Linked DNA regions of Homo sapiens: all the other regions are linked to region 4. The links are contacts of gene promoters, found by promoter capture Hi-C in human tissues and cell types (Jung and others, 2019). All regions are on one chromosome and are shown on one strand. The core of a region is centred on a gene start or on the middle of the fragment in contact, and the rest is flanking DNA. Distances in the headings are between cores, read along the strand shown. Region 1 has its middle 35 kb from the start of NEUROG2-AS1. Region 2 overlaps ZGRF1 (zinc finger GRF-type containing 1). Region 3 overlaps ZGRF1 (zinc finger GRF-type containing 1). Region 4 holds the start of NEUROG2 (neurogenin 2). Region 5 has its middle 60 kb from the start of NEUROG2-AS1.

The links. The method cuts DNA at HindIII sites, captures the fragments that hold promoters and counts their contacts. A contact is called where the count stands out against the background at its distance.
Region 1: a contact is called between a fragment that was not itself captured here and the fragment with the promoter of NEUROG2 in region 4, in 3 of the 25 tissues and cell types used here (aorta, pancreas and thymus).
Region 2: a fragment that was not itself captured here is called in contact with the fragment with the promoter of NEUROG2 in region 4 in 3 of the 25 tissues and cell types used here (adrenal gland, pancreas and stomach).
Region 3: a contact is called between a fragment that was not itself captured here and the fragment with the promoter of NEUROG2 in region 4, in 4 of the 25 tissues and cell types used here (IMR-90 fibroblasts, bladder, psoas muscle and 1 more).
Region 5: a contact is called between a fragment that was not itself captured here and the fragment with the promoter of NEUROG2 in region 4, in 1 of the 25 tissues and cell types used here (neural progenitor cells).

Annotation. Positions count from the first base shown.
Region 1 is chr4:112,478,631-112,481,330 of GRCh38, forward strand. No RefSeq gene overlaps it. Among named protein-coding and RNA genes, the nearest start is that of NEUROG2-AS1, 35 kb to the right of the region's middle. The HindIII fragment of the contact is 4,196 bases long and covers 1-2,700 here.
Region 2 is chr4:112,570,764-112,573,463 of GRCh38, forward strand. The region is part of intron 16 of ZGRF1 (zinc finger GRF-type containing 1); the gene reads right to left. Among named protein-coding and RNA genes, the nearest start is that of NEUROG2, 56 kb to the left of the region's middle. The HindIII fragment of the contact is 5,551 bases long and covers 1-2,700 here.
Region 3 is chr4:112,550,821-112,553,520 of GRCh38, forward strand. The region is part of intron 22 of ZGRF1 (zinc finger GRF-type containing 1); the gene reads right to left. Among named protein-coding and RNA genes, the nearest start is that of NEUROG2, 36 kb to the left of the region's middle. The HindIII fragment of the contact is 4,769 bases long and covers 1-2,700 here.
Region 4 is chr4:112,514,861-112,517,560 of GRCh38, forward strand. It overlaps NEUROG2 (neurogenin 2), which reads right to left and starts at 1,320. Exons shown (of 2, transcript NM_024019.4): 1 at 987-1,320; 2 at 1-616. The coding sequence starts at 615. NEUROG2-AS1 (NEUROG2 and ZGRF1 antisense RNA 1) reads left to right here and starts at 519. Exons shown (of 4, transcript NR_161159.1): 1 at 519-780. It overlaps LOC124900760 (a long non-coding RNA gene), which reads left to right and starts at 1,945. Exons shown (of 2, transcript XR_007058231.1): 1 at 1,945-2,179. RefSeq lists silencers at 1-151, 412-481, 1,802-2,081 and enhancers at 2,091-2,700, 2,222-2,321, 2,422-2,541. The HindIII fragment of the contact is 15,153 bases long and covers 1-2,700 here.
Region 5 is chr4:112,453,607-112,456,306 of GRCh38, forward strand. It overlaps the pseudogene TOX4P1. Among named protein-coding and RNA genes, the nearest start is that of NEUROG2-AS1, 60 kb to the right of the region's middle. The HindIII fragment of the contact is 7,383 bases long and covers 1-2,700 here.

The sequences.
Region 1 (2,700 bases), core at 119-2,618, 36 kb before region 4:
TGGTTATTTTGCTCATTAGTTGATGCAGTTTCTTCCTAGCATCAACGGTCTTTACAATTTGGCATGTTTTTGCAGTGGCTGGTACCGGTTGTTCCTTTCCATGTTTAGTGCTTCCTTCAGGAGCTCTTTTAGGGCAGGCCTGGTGGTGACAAAATCTCTCAGAATTTGCTTGTCTGTGAAGGATTTTATTTCTCCTTCACTTATGAAGCTTAGTTTGGCTGGATATGAAATTCTGGGTTGAAAATTTTTTTCTTTAAGAATGTTGAATATTGGCCCCCACTCTCTTCTGGCTTGTTGAGTTTCTGCCGAGAGATCCGCTGTTAGTCTGATGGGCTTCCCTTTGTGGGTAACCCAACCTTTCTCTTTGGCCGCCCTTAACATTTTTTCCTTCATTTCAACTTTGGTGAATCTGACAATTATGTGTCTTGGAGTTGCTCTTCTTGGGGATATCTTTGTGGTGTTCTCTGTATTTCCTGAATTTGAATGTTGGCCTGCCTTGCTAGATTGGGGAAGTTTTCCTGGATAATATCCTGCAGAGTGTTTTCCAACTTGGTTCCATTCTCCCTGTCACTTTCAGGTACACCAATCAGACATAGATTTGGTCTTTTCACATAGTCCCATATTTCTTGGAGGCTTGGTTCATTTCTTTCTACTCTTTTTTCTCTAAACTTCTCTTCTCGCTTCATTTCATTCATTTGATCTTCAATCACTGATACCCTTTCTTCCAGTTGATCGAATCAGCTACTGAAGCTTGTGCATTCGTCACGTAGTTCTCGTTCCATGTTTTTCAGCTCCATCAGGTCATTTAAGGACTTCTCTACACTGGTCATTCTAGTTAGCCATTCATCTAATCTTTTTTCAAGGTTTTTAGCTTCTTTGCGATGGGTTCGAACTTCCTCCTTTAGCTCGGAGAAGTTTGAGGTCTGAAGCCTCTCTCAACTCGTCAAAGTCATTCTCCGTCCAGCTTTGTTCCGTTGCTGGTGAGGATCTGTGTTCCTTTGGAGGGGGAGAGGTGCTCTGATTTTTAGAATTTTCAGCTTTTCTGCTCTGTTTTTTCCCCATATTTGTGGTTTTATCTACCTTTGGTCTTTGAAGATGGTGACGTACAGATAGGGTTTTCGTGTGGATGTCCTTTCTGTTTGTTAGTTTTCCTTTTAATAGTCAGGACCCTCAGCTGCAGGTCTGTTGGAGTTTGCTAGAGGTCTACTCCAGACCTGTTTGCCTGGGTATTAGCAGCAGAGGCTGCAGAACAGCGAATATCGCTGAACAGCAAATGTTGCTGCCTGATTGTTCCTCTGGAAGCTTCGTCTCAGAGGGGTACCCGGCCATGTGAGGTGTCAGTCTGCCCCTACTTGGGGGTGCCTCCCAGTTAGGCTACTCAGTGGTCAGTGGCCCACTTGAGGAGGCAGTCTGTCCATTCTCAGATCTCAAACTCCGTGGTAAGAGAACCACTACTCACATCAAAGCTGTCAGACAGGGACATTTAAGTCTGCAGTGGTTTCTGCTGCCTTTTGTTCAGCTATGCCCTGCCCCCAGAGGTGGAGTGTACAGAGGCAGGCCGGCCTCCTTTCGCTGCAGTTGGGTTCCACCCAGTTCGAGCTTCCTGCTACTTTGTTTACCTACTCAAGCCTCAGCAATGGTGGGCACCCCTCCCCCAGCCTCACTGTCACCTTGCAGTTCAATCTCAGACTGCTGTGCTAGCAACGAGCGAGGCTCCGTGGGCATGGGACCTTGCAAGCCATGTGCGGGATATAATCTCCTGGTGCGCCGTTTGCTAAGACCATCAGAAAAGCGCAGTATTAGGGTGGGAGTGACCTGACTTTCCAGGTGCCATCTGTCACAGCTTCCCTTGGCTAGGAAAAGGAATTCCGTGGCCTCTTGCACTTCCTGGGCGAGGCGATGCCTCGCCCTGCTTCGGCTCATGCTTGGTGGGCTGCACCCACTGTCTGACAAGCTCCAGTGAGATGAACCCGGTACCTCAGTTGGAAATGCAGAAATCAACTGTCTTCTGCGTTGCTCATGCTGGGAGCTGCACACTGGAGCTGTTCCTATTTGGCCATCTTGGAACCACCTAAAAATATTTTTTAAATAAAAGTATTTTATATTTTCCCAAGTGTTTATCATTTCTGGCACTCTTCATTTCTTTTTATAGATTCATATGTCCATCTTGTATCATTTTCATTCTGCCTTGAAAGGCTTTCTTTCGAGGAAGGAGTTATCTGCTGCCAATGAATTATCTTGGCTTTTAAATGTTTATATAAGTCCTTATTTGAATTTCATTTCTAAAGGATATTTTTGCTGGGTATAGAATTTTAGGTGGAGTTTTTTAAAATATGTCATTCCATATTAAAGATGTTTGGACGCATTATTTCTGAAGAGAAGTCTGTTGTCTTTCTCACTTTTGTTTCTCCAACTATTTTTTTCTCTCACTACTTAAAAACCTTATTATCTTTTATCACTGATTTTTAGAAATTTGATCATTTTGTATACCACAGCATACTTTTATATATATATATGTTTTTTTGCTTCAGATTTGTTGAACTACTGGGATGGTTGGTTTCATAGATTTCATCAAATTTATGGTCATTAGTGCTATAATATTTTTTCTTTCTCTCCATCTTTTATGTGGACTGCAAATCATACATGCTTGGTTTCCTGATATTGTCTTATCACTCACTATTACTGCTGCTTTTCTGTGTA
Region 2 (2,700 bases), core at 88-2,587, 56 kb after region 4:
AAACTTAAAACAAACTGAATTATAATGAAAAAAATACTTCAGCAAAAATAGAGTGGTAGGCCAGGCATGGAGGCTCACATCTGTAAACTCAACACTTTGGGAGCCCAGGCACGCAGATCACTTGAGGTGAGGAGTTCAAGACCAACCTGGCCACCATGGTGAAACCCTGTCTCTACTAAAAATACAAAAAGTTAGCTGGGTGTGGTGGTAGGTGCCTGTAGTCCCAGCTACTCGGGAAGCTGAGGCAGGAGAATCACTTGAACCCAGGAGGTGGAGGTTGCAGTGAGCCAAGATTGTGCCACTGCACTCAGCCTGGGCAACAGAGCCAGACTGCATTTCAAAAAAAAAAAAAAAGAGTGGTACTTTAAGGAAAACTTACAGCCCTAATAATTATATTAGAGAAGAGAAAAGCCTCAAAATTAGCTAAGTATCAAGCTTAAGATGTGTAAAAAGAACAGTATACTATCCTAAACAAAATAGAAGAAATCATAAAAATTAGAGAGGAAGCCAATAACAACAATAAAAACAAAACAAAAATACATTGCTGATCTTCTGATCAATAAAGCCAAGTCAGTTCTTCGAAAACAATAACAAAATAAGACAAACCTCAGGCAAGACTGGTCAGAAGAATAAAAACACAAACAATACAATGGTATCAGAGAATATGAATAAATTTAAGATAAAAATATTCAAAACTTCTACAGGGAAATTTGCAAAACTTTATTATAAGATGTTACAAACAATTTTTAAATAAACAGAGATACAGCAAGTACATGGTATTAAATCTTAATTTTTTTTTTTTCTGAGACAAGGTCTCACTATGTTGCCCAGGCTGGTCTCCAAACTCCTGAGCTCAAGCTATCCTCCTGTCTTGGCCTCCCAAAGTGTCGGGATTACAGGCGTGAGCCACCATGCTCAGCCCTAAATCTTGGTATTTTAAAGATGTCATCCCTTCTCAACTTTATAGGTACAATTCCAATTAAGATCCCAACAAGTTTTTCATGAAACTTGATAAGATGATTCTAAAATATATATGAAAGAGTAAAGGACCAAGAACAGCCAGGTCACATCTAAGAACAGAGAGGGGAACTTGCACTATTTGATATTTGGATTTATGAAGCCATGGTAATTAAGGCAGTGTGGAACTGGTACAACAATATACAAATTAACCTACAGTATAAAATAGGGAGTCAAGAACACACACAGCTACTTTAAACCTGATTATATGACAGAGGTAGCATTTCAGATCAGTGAGGAAAAGAGAGACTAATCAATAAAAAATGGTTACTATTCTAGCAAAATTGGTAATTAAAAAGAAAAAGATGAAACTGGATCCCTACTTCATACCATATACAAAAGAAAAAAGAATCAACTTCAAGTGGACTGAAGATTTAAATCTCATAGCCACCAAAACAGCATGGTACTGGTATAAAAACAGGCACACAAACCAATAGAACAGAATAGAGAGCCCAGAAATAAAGCCAAATACTTAGAGCCAACTGATCTTTGACAAAACAAACAAAAACATAAAGTGGAGAAAAAACACCCTATTCAACAAATGGTGCTGGGATAACTAGCAAGCCACATGTGGAGGAATGAAATTGGATCCTCATCTCTCACCTTATACAAAATTCAACTAAACATGGATCGAGGATTTAAATCTAAGACCTGAAACCATAAAAATTCTAGAACATCAGAAAAACCCTTCTGACTTTGGCTTAGGCTAAGACTTCATGACCAAAAACCCAAAAGCAAATACAATAAAAACAAAGCTAAATAAGTGGAACTTAATTAAACTATTAGTAAAAAGCTTCTGCACAGCAAAATTAACAATCATCAGGGTAAACAGACAACCCACAGAGTGGGAGAAAATATTCACAATCTATACATCTGACAAACGATTAACACTCAGAATCTACAAGGAACTCAAACAAATCAGCAAGAAAAAAACCAAATGATCCCATCAAAAAGTGGGCTAAGGACATGAATAGACAATTCTCAAAAGAAGATACACAAATGGCCAACAAACATGAAAAAATGCTCAACATCCCTAATGATCAGGGAAATGCAAATCAAAACCACAAGGCAATACTGCCTTAATCCTGCAAGAATGGCCATAATCAAAAAATCAAAATTAATAGATGTTGGCAGGGATGAAAGGGAACACTTTTACACTGCTAGTGGAAATGTAATCTAGTACAACCAGTGGAAAACAGTGTGGAGATTCCTTAAAGAACTAAAAGTAGAACTACCATTTGATCCAACAATCCCACTACTGGGTATCTATTCAGAGGAAAACACAAAAAAGATACTTACACGTTTATAGCAGCACAATTCCCAATTACAAAAATATGGAACCAGCCCAAATGCCTATCAATCAACAAGTGGATAAAGAAATTGTGATACACACACACACACACACACACACACACACACACCCATGGAATACTATTCAGCCATAAAAAGAAACGAATAATGGCATTTGCAACAACCTGGATGGAACTGGAGACCACTATTCTAAGTGAAGTAACTCAGGAATGGAAAAATCAAACATCGTATGTTCTTACTCATAAGTGGGAGCTAAGTTATGAGGGTACAAAGGCATAATAATAATACAATGGACTTTGGGGACTCAGGGGAAAGGGTAAGGGGGGCAGTGAAGGATAAAAAGACTACAAATTTGATACGGTGTATACTGAT
Region 3 (2,700 bases), core at 78-2,577, 36 kb after region 4:
CAGCCTGGACAGAGCAAGATTCTATCTCAAAAAAATTAAAAATTTTTTTAGAAGTCTACAGTAGTGTACAGTAATGTCCTAGGCTTCCACATTCACTCACCACCCACTCACTGACTCAGCCACAGTGACTTCCAGTCCTGCAAGCTCCATTCATGGTCAGTTAACTATAAAGTTAACTATTAAAAAGCTATAGTATATATAGTTTTCTGAGGACTTCTACAACCAAAACTTTGTGGTTATTATTTCCAATTTCTCCTTCCCTCCCTCCCTATACAGGTGTACCATTTTAAATATTTTATACCATATTTTCACAGTACATTTTCTGTTTAGATACAGAAATACCACCATGTTACAATTAAATGCCTACAGTATTCAGTACATGCTGTATAGATTTGTAGCTGAGGAGCAATAGGCTATACTATGTAGCCTAGTGTGTAGTAGGCTATACCATCTAGGTTTGTGTAAGTACACTATGACGTTCACACAATGACAAAATTGTAAAACAATACATTTCTCAGAATGATATATGACTGTACTTATTCTCTTCTAACAATCTGAAGATCTATAAAATTACACTTCTTGATAGCAAGGGCAGTTCATACCAACTGACCATACCTTTTTTCAACAAACTAACAAAAAATATGCTTTACAAATTAAATACTGCCTCCACAGATCCTACAAAATAAGAAAACATTACAACTGCCTTATTTTAATAATAAATAATATTCACCACACACAATAGCCCTGTATCAGTTAGGTTTTCTTCTTTTGTTAAAAACAAAAACAAAAATCTTAAAGCCACATTTATATCAGAAATTCCACAGTATTTAAATATTGAGTTCTTTAAAAATGATCAAGCTTTGGTGCCACTCTGAAATATTATTCATTTTATTTAATTTCTGGCAACTATATCTACAAAACAATCTTAGAATGAGAACTCTAAAGTTATGTGTCAAGAAGCATTTTTTAAATTTAAAGAAATATCTAATACAAAAACCTAAAGTATTAAGTTTTCTTTAAAAAATTATGTTATCTTTTTATTTATTATTATGTTGCTGAGATTCTAACAGCAGAAAAGATTTTGTTACTGACCTAGCAAGTATTAATTAACTATGAAGCATTTTTAAAAATTAGTTTTATTGTGAAGACATGCCACTTTAGAAATGAGTCAGGTCTTCCGGGCGCGGTGGCTCATGCCTGTAATCCCAGCACTTTGGGAGGCAGAGGTGGGAGGATCACTTAAGGTCAGGAGTTTGAGACCAGCCTGGCCAACACTGTGAAACCCTGTCTCTACTAAAAATACAAAAATTAGCCGGGTGCGGTGGAATGTGCCTGTAGTCCCAGCTACTCAGGATGCTGAGGCAGGAGAATTGCTTGAACCAAGAGGTGGAGGTTGCAGTGAGCTGAGACTGCGCCACTGCACTCCAGCCTGGGTGACAGAGCGAGACTCTGGCTCAAAAAAAAAAAAAAAGAAAGAAAGAAATGTGTCAGGTCCGAATGCCTGGCTGGACCTTAGAAATATGTCAGAGAAAATTTCTAAAAAATAATTCCTCTAAAATAGTTTTCATTTGTGAATAGGTGATACAAATGAGCAATAGATCATAGTAACTGGGCTTTCATTCAGAAAATCATCCAAGAAATCATTAACAATGATATATATGAATAATGATTCTTATATATCATTGTTACGTTGGGTGAGTAAAATGATAAGTAGTTTACATAAATGACTAATTTGTATTAATTGAACACAGCCAAACTAAGCCTTTCTGGATTTGGTTAAGAAGAGAGTATAGAGTTAACTCTATAATTCAAATAACAGAAAGTTAGTCTGAAGTTTTCTGAGGACTTCCAGAACCAAAACTTGTTATAGATTGGTTATTATTTTCAGTTTCTCCTTCCCGCCCTAGGAAAGTATTATTACATATCCACACCCTTTGCCATGTTACTTGGCAGTGCTTCCCACCAGAGAAGTAGGGGAGTATATTTCCCTGCCTCACTGATGTTAGGCTTGGCCGTGTGACCTGTGCAAATGGAATGTCAGCAAACATAATATGAACTGAAGCTTTAAATGTGTTTCTGTGATCTGTCCTGCCCTCTTGCACTTCTGCCATCTGTTAGAAGATCATGCCATAGCAACTGTTCTCAGAATAAGAGACTTTACCCATAGCCTCAAGCCAAGCCACACCACTTGACCTGTAGAGTCATAAGCTGTTGTCTTAAAGTACTGAGACTGAGTTTGTTAACCCTCATTATTTCAGCAATAGCTGATCAATACAGTGTCCCAAGTAGACTCATTTTCTCAACTCTCTAGCAGAAAGTTACCAATGTGCAAGTGGCCCAAGAAGCCAACAACTTTCTTTTACTCCATCCCCATTGCTTTTCCCCATGCTCTCCTTTCATAGGAGGAAGCTGCTGATTGATTTTTTCTCTTCCAACAGCTGATGCCCAGGCTTCCCTAGATCAAAACTTGATAAAGGAGATAGTGCTACCTGTTACAGCCTGGAATCTTGTGTGCTTAGTCTTGGCTTCCAATACCTGGAAGCTAGCGTCTGAGCCTCCTGGATTCTTGGATATATACAAACACTAAAAGTCTTGGCTTTCTTGGAGAGCATCAAACACAAATTTCATTTGGATATTTTACTCAGGGTCAGATCCTCTCCATCACTGTTTCTCCTAGAATACAACTAATTTCATTTAACT
Region 4 (2,700 bases), core at 70-2,569:
TCCGCTGCTGCTCAGGGCGGCGCTGGCTCCTCCCGGGCTCAGCAACACTGCCTCGGAGAAGAGCGCCCCCGGCAGGCCCCCGCCGCCGCCCCCGCAGTGATCCGCCAGGCGCAGGGTCTCGGTGAGTGCCCAGATGTAGTTGTGGGCGAAGCGCAGGGTCTCGATCTTGGTGAGCTTGGCGTCCTCGGGGAACGTGGGGAGCACCTCGCGCAGCGCGTCCAGTGCCGCGTTGAGGTTGTGCATGCGGTTTCGCTCGCGGTTGTTGGCCTTCAGTCTACGGGTCTTCTTGATGCGCTGCACCGTCTCGGCCGTCTTGGCGCCTCGGGAGACGGCCCGCGCCCGGGAAGGGCGCCGTTTGCAATCGTGTACCAGACCCAGCAGCCGTGCGGGCCGGCAGCCCTCCGCACCCGCAGCCACGCCGCCCCGCGCCCCCTGCCCGGCCTCAGCCCCGCGCTGCCGACGCGCCCCGCCTGACGCGCCCGGCTCCTCCTCCTCTTCTTCGTCGGCGCTGGATGACAGCGGGGTCAGGGCCGCCAAGGCGGGGGAGGCCGATCCGAGCAGCACTAACACGTCCTCTTCCTCCTTCAACTCCAAGGTCTCGGATTTGACGAACATCCTACCGAAGAGAGAAAGGGGAAAAAGGCAGTGAGGTGTAAGGAAAGAAACAGAGGCGCGATCTTCGTGTCACAGGGGCGTGCTCCGGCGCGCACCCGAGAAGACCAGCTCCGAATGGCGCGGAGCAGGAAGGCGAAGGAAGAAACCCAGGCAGTGCTAACCAAGGTCAGGAGCGCCGCTAGCGCTCGCTGTGACCCTGCTGCCAGTCAGCCGGGTCCTGCCCTCCGCGGGCGGTCCTGCGTTCCCTCCCCGAGAAGGGACTGCGGCCTCCGCGACAAAGATTCTGCGCGGAGCAGAGGGCGTGCGGGTGTGGTTGGACTGAGTGCGGGGAAACCACCTGCGTAGTTGGAAGCGGTGGCTCGAATACTTACTTAGTTGGCTCTAACTGTGCCTCAGCGTTGCTGTGACTTTGGCCTGTGCCGGGAATCTCCGCGCAGCTGCGAGCGCAGCGCCGGGTCCTTCGCCCGGCGTGAAAGCTGCAAGCCCGGCGCTACTGTGGCGCAGCTCCGCGGGGGACCTCTGCGACCGGCGAGTTTGCCAAGAGCCCCGGCGGCGGCGGCGGCGGCCCGCCCGGGTCTCGTGTGTTGTGGTGGTGGTGCGTGTCTGTCTGTCAGTCAGTCCCTGGCCGTGCGGCTCCTGGCACGCGACTCCCAGGCACTCCAGTTAACGCGAAGCTGCTTGTGGTTCAGTGGCTGCGTGTCTGGCACACGACTCTCCTTAAAACCCCTTATATACCACCAAGAAAACAATCAGATCTGCCCCGGGCCCCCTCCTCCCCCGCCACCGCCTCCTCCTCCTGTCAGTCCTGCCCCCCTTCTCCCCCGCTTTTCCCTCCTCTGGCTTATTCTTTTCATTGCATTATCATCATTCATTTCTTCCTCTTTCTTCACCGCCTTTCCCCCTCCCTTGGCCCTGCCATCCATCCTCCTCCTCCCACCACCCCCGCCTCTCTTTTCCCCCTTTATCTAATCAACATAAAATGGTTCTAAAGCTCCTGTTGGAGCTCCGGGCTGCGGCCGGAGCTGGCGAAGCCGCAGCGGCCGCAGAGGCTCAAGCTGCGGCTGTTGTCGCCGCCGCTGTCCATTGTGATTGGTGGCTCGCGCTCGGCTGGAGCGTGCCGCTAATTTATTAATGAATGGAGGTCGCGAGGCGCAGCTGGCCAATCAGGGCGCCCTGGACTCCGGGAGGCCTGCGAGCCACGCGCACCGGAGCCCGCTCCCTTTCAGCAGCTCATTAGGGGCCCGAGCGCTGGGGGCGGATGGGGGGACCCGTGCTACCGCCCCCGCCTTCGTCCTCGCTGCCGCCGAGGCTCCCCCCGCCCGGCGCGCGCGCAGGCACCGCACCCGGCGCTGCCGGCCCTCCTAACTCCCGGGTGATGGGAACTAGGAATTAGTTAATGGGGGTCAGAATCCCGGGGAAAGCAGTTAGCCCTGTGGTGCTGCCGGGCGTCTCTTGGCAAAGCCTCTTAGGGGTTGTATCAAATAGTAAACGATTTTAAAATGGATTCATTTGGTTAGGGGAGGAGAATGGCGTGGATGGAGAGATGTGGACACCTCGTGAACAAGTGTGTTTGGGGTCCGTCGAAACTGGCGTGGGAGAGTGAAGGGAGAGGACACTGGGGATTCAAACAGGCGTCTCTTGGGAGGGGAGGTCGGATAGGGGAGCAGTTGATGAGCTTTTAGAGGATGTGAGAATGAAATCACTCACATGTTAGAGCTGAAAGGATCCCCCTCATTTTACATACAGGAAACTGAGGCTCCGGGCACTGATGCAGGTTTTGCTGGGGTTAACCCAGTTTATAGCCTGGAGGGACAGCAAGGAGGCTTCCTGCGTGGGTGGCAGCGAACCGAGCGGGAGGAGCGGCAGAGCTGCTGCTCCTGCAAGCAAATGCGCTGCGCTGACATTTCTGTGACCTCTGCTCCGCGCTGGGGGGCGTTGTAGGGACAAGGGGCCCATCTTCCCAATTCTGCTTTTCAATGAGAAAAAAGAGCTGAAGGGCTACTGGACCTCGGGGGAAACTTGTTCTCAATTGCTCGTTAGCCCTCCCCACTTTCCCCACGTTCATGCCCACCCTCTTGTCGACAT
Region 5 (2,700 bases), core at 65-2,564, 61 kb before region 4:
GGGTTTTTTTTGTTGTTGTTTGTTTGTTATTTGCTTTTGGTTTTTGTCTCAGTGAAAAAGTAAAAATGCTTGAGTGCTCCATCACTTAGGGAGATTGAGCCCATCTTCTTTTCCATGATTTTTATTTTAGTGCTTATTTAATTAAGAAAATTAAATCATTTTTGTGGTACACGAATAAAATTGGTGAAAATTATGGTTACCAGTATTTTATTACTGTTGATTTTTATCGCTCTTATATATCTGTAAACCAGATAATGCCGGAGAAATTGATTGCCATCTGTTCTTAGACTCTAGGAATAGGGCATCATTATCTCTAGGAGTACTCTACTACTATGTGACCCAAATGTACTGGTAATCCAATTTTTTAAGATCAGTAAATGTTTTTAACCTATATTATATGCATTATTACATGATATGCTTCAGATAAAGCATGAATTACTTTTAAAACAAGTGATAAAGAGGGCCTAATTTACTGGTTCTGGCTCAGAAACCAGGTGTTTTAAGTGCATTGAGTTTCATGAATTAAAGAGTGTGTTTCCTCCTTTATCCAGAGCTGCTAAGGATTATTGAGACTCCAAGATTAAAGGCACATCATGAAACTAAAACAGGCATTTAAACTTCCTGTGCCAAAATGCTGCCTTTGTTTCCCATCTCTTTCCTGATTAATCTCAGGACCATTCTTCATTACTACTACCCAAAGGTTAAAAGACGATTAATAGTATCAACTTCAAAACTTTTGTGAGAATTAGAGCACATGTAACCTTGCTAGGACGGTGCCTGGCAAAGAGTAAATGTTTCATCAATGGTTGTTGTTGCTATTTTTTTATCATTATTTATTCACCATATTTTCATCCTTTAAACCAAAGCAGAGTTAGAGTTAGCAATATTAGTTGTGTTTTCCACTTGAGCTAAGGTTAATTCCTAGATGAATGCCAGTTGCTTTAATTTTCACTGATAGAATCTGCTTTCTGTATCGTTAACCTCCACACTTGAGTATTCAAGTTTTGTTTCATAGTGTTGCCTCCATGCTTTCTGTGATCGGTCTCTGCTATAAGTCCACTCAACATCATTAACCTTTCATCCTGATTATGAAAATGTGGTTTTCCAAACGTATTTGACTCTGATAACACATGGTCACAAAATTATTTACATTAAGGGTTGCAGCCTCACACAGCTCCAGAGAGTCCCATTCACTTGAAATCAACATGCATTAGTCATCTATTGCTGCCTAATAAATTATCACAAATTTAGCAGCTTAAAACAATACCTGTTTGTTATCTGACAGTTCCATAGGTCAGAAATCCTGGATGGTATGACTGGCACCTCAGCTCAGGGTATCACAGGCCTAAAAGCAATCTGTCAGCTGGCTGTGTTCTCTTCTGGAGCTTGGGATCATCTTCCAATCTCATTCCTGATGTTGGTAAAATTCAGTTCCTTGTGGTTGTAGAACTGAGGTGGCTGTTTCCTTGTTGGCTGTTAGCTGGGTTTGTCTCAGTTACTTGTAGCCACTCTGTGGTCCTTGTATGGAACCCCTCCAGCATCAAGGCCAACAACAGCACACTAAATCCTTCTCATGCTTCAAATTTCTCTGACTTCTCCTGCTTCCAGTCATAGAAAACTTTCTGCTTTAAAAGGGGTCAGCTAATTGAGTCAGGCCCACCTGGATAATCCCCATATTTTAAAGTTAACTGACTTTCAACCAGGCATGGTGGCTCACACATGTAATCCTAGTACTTTGGGAGGCTGAGACGGGCAGATCCCTTGAGGTCAGGAGTTCAAGCCCAGCCTTGGCAACATGGTGAAACCTCGTCTCTACTAGAAATACAAAAATTAGCCAGGAGTGGTGGCTCACGCCTGTAATCCCAGCTACTTGAGAGGCTGAGGCATGAGAATCACTTGAACCCAGGAGGCTGAGGTTGCAGTGAGCTGAGATCGCACTACTGCACTCCAGCCTGGGCAACAGAGACTCTGTCTTAATTAATTAATTAATACTTATTAATTTATTAATTAATTAAGTTAACTGACTTGGGACTTTACAGCAGTGCCTGTATTACTGTTTGAACAACCAACAGATAAGAATCTTGGGGGAGGGCATCTTTAGAGTGTTGCCTACCACATAATGTGAGTTTGGTGCGCTCCTGGTTCTGAGATGCTGGGTTTCACACACATTTTAAGGTTTTTAGATGCAAGGAACACAGGCTTGTTTAAGGAAAGTTAAATAGGATACACATGATACAAGAAGTGGTCTCACAGTTCCGAGTCCAGTGGGGCGGTGGGAGCGATGACAGTCTGAGATGGTAGGAGCAGTTGTGTGAAGATGGAGTCTCCCGGAGGAAATGACAATTACCTGACAATCACAGGGCCGTCACACCTCTTCCTGTCAGGGGCCGAGACATTCCATACACCAAGCTTAGGTGATGAAGAATTTGAAATCCCACCTATCTCTTTGGATTCTGATCCCTCATTGGCTGTCTCAGATGTGGTTGACCACTTTGATGACCTGGCAGACCCTTCCTCTTCACAGGATGGCAGTGCTTCAGCCCAGTATGGGGTCCAGACATTGGACATGCTCTGTGGGCATGACCCATGGCTTGATGGAGCAAGGTGGGGGCTCCTCAGTGGAGGCTTGATCATGGACTTAAACCACTCTATAGGAACTCAGTATAGTGCCAACCCACCTGTTACAATTGATGTACTAAT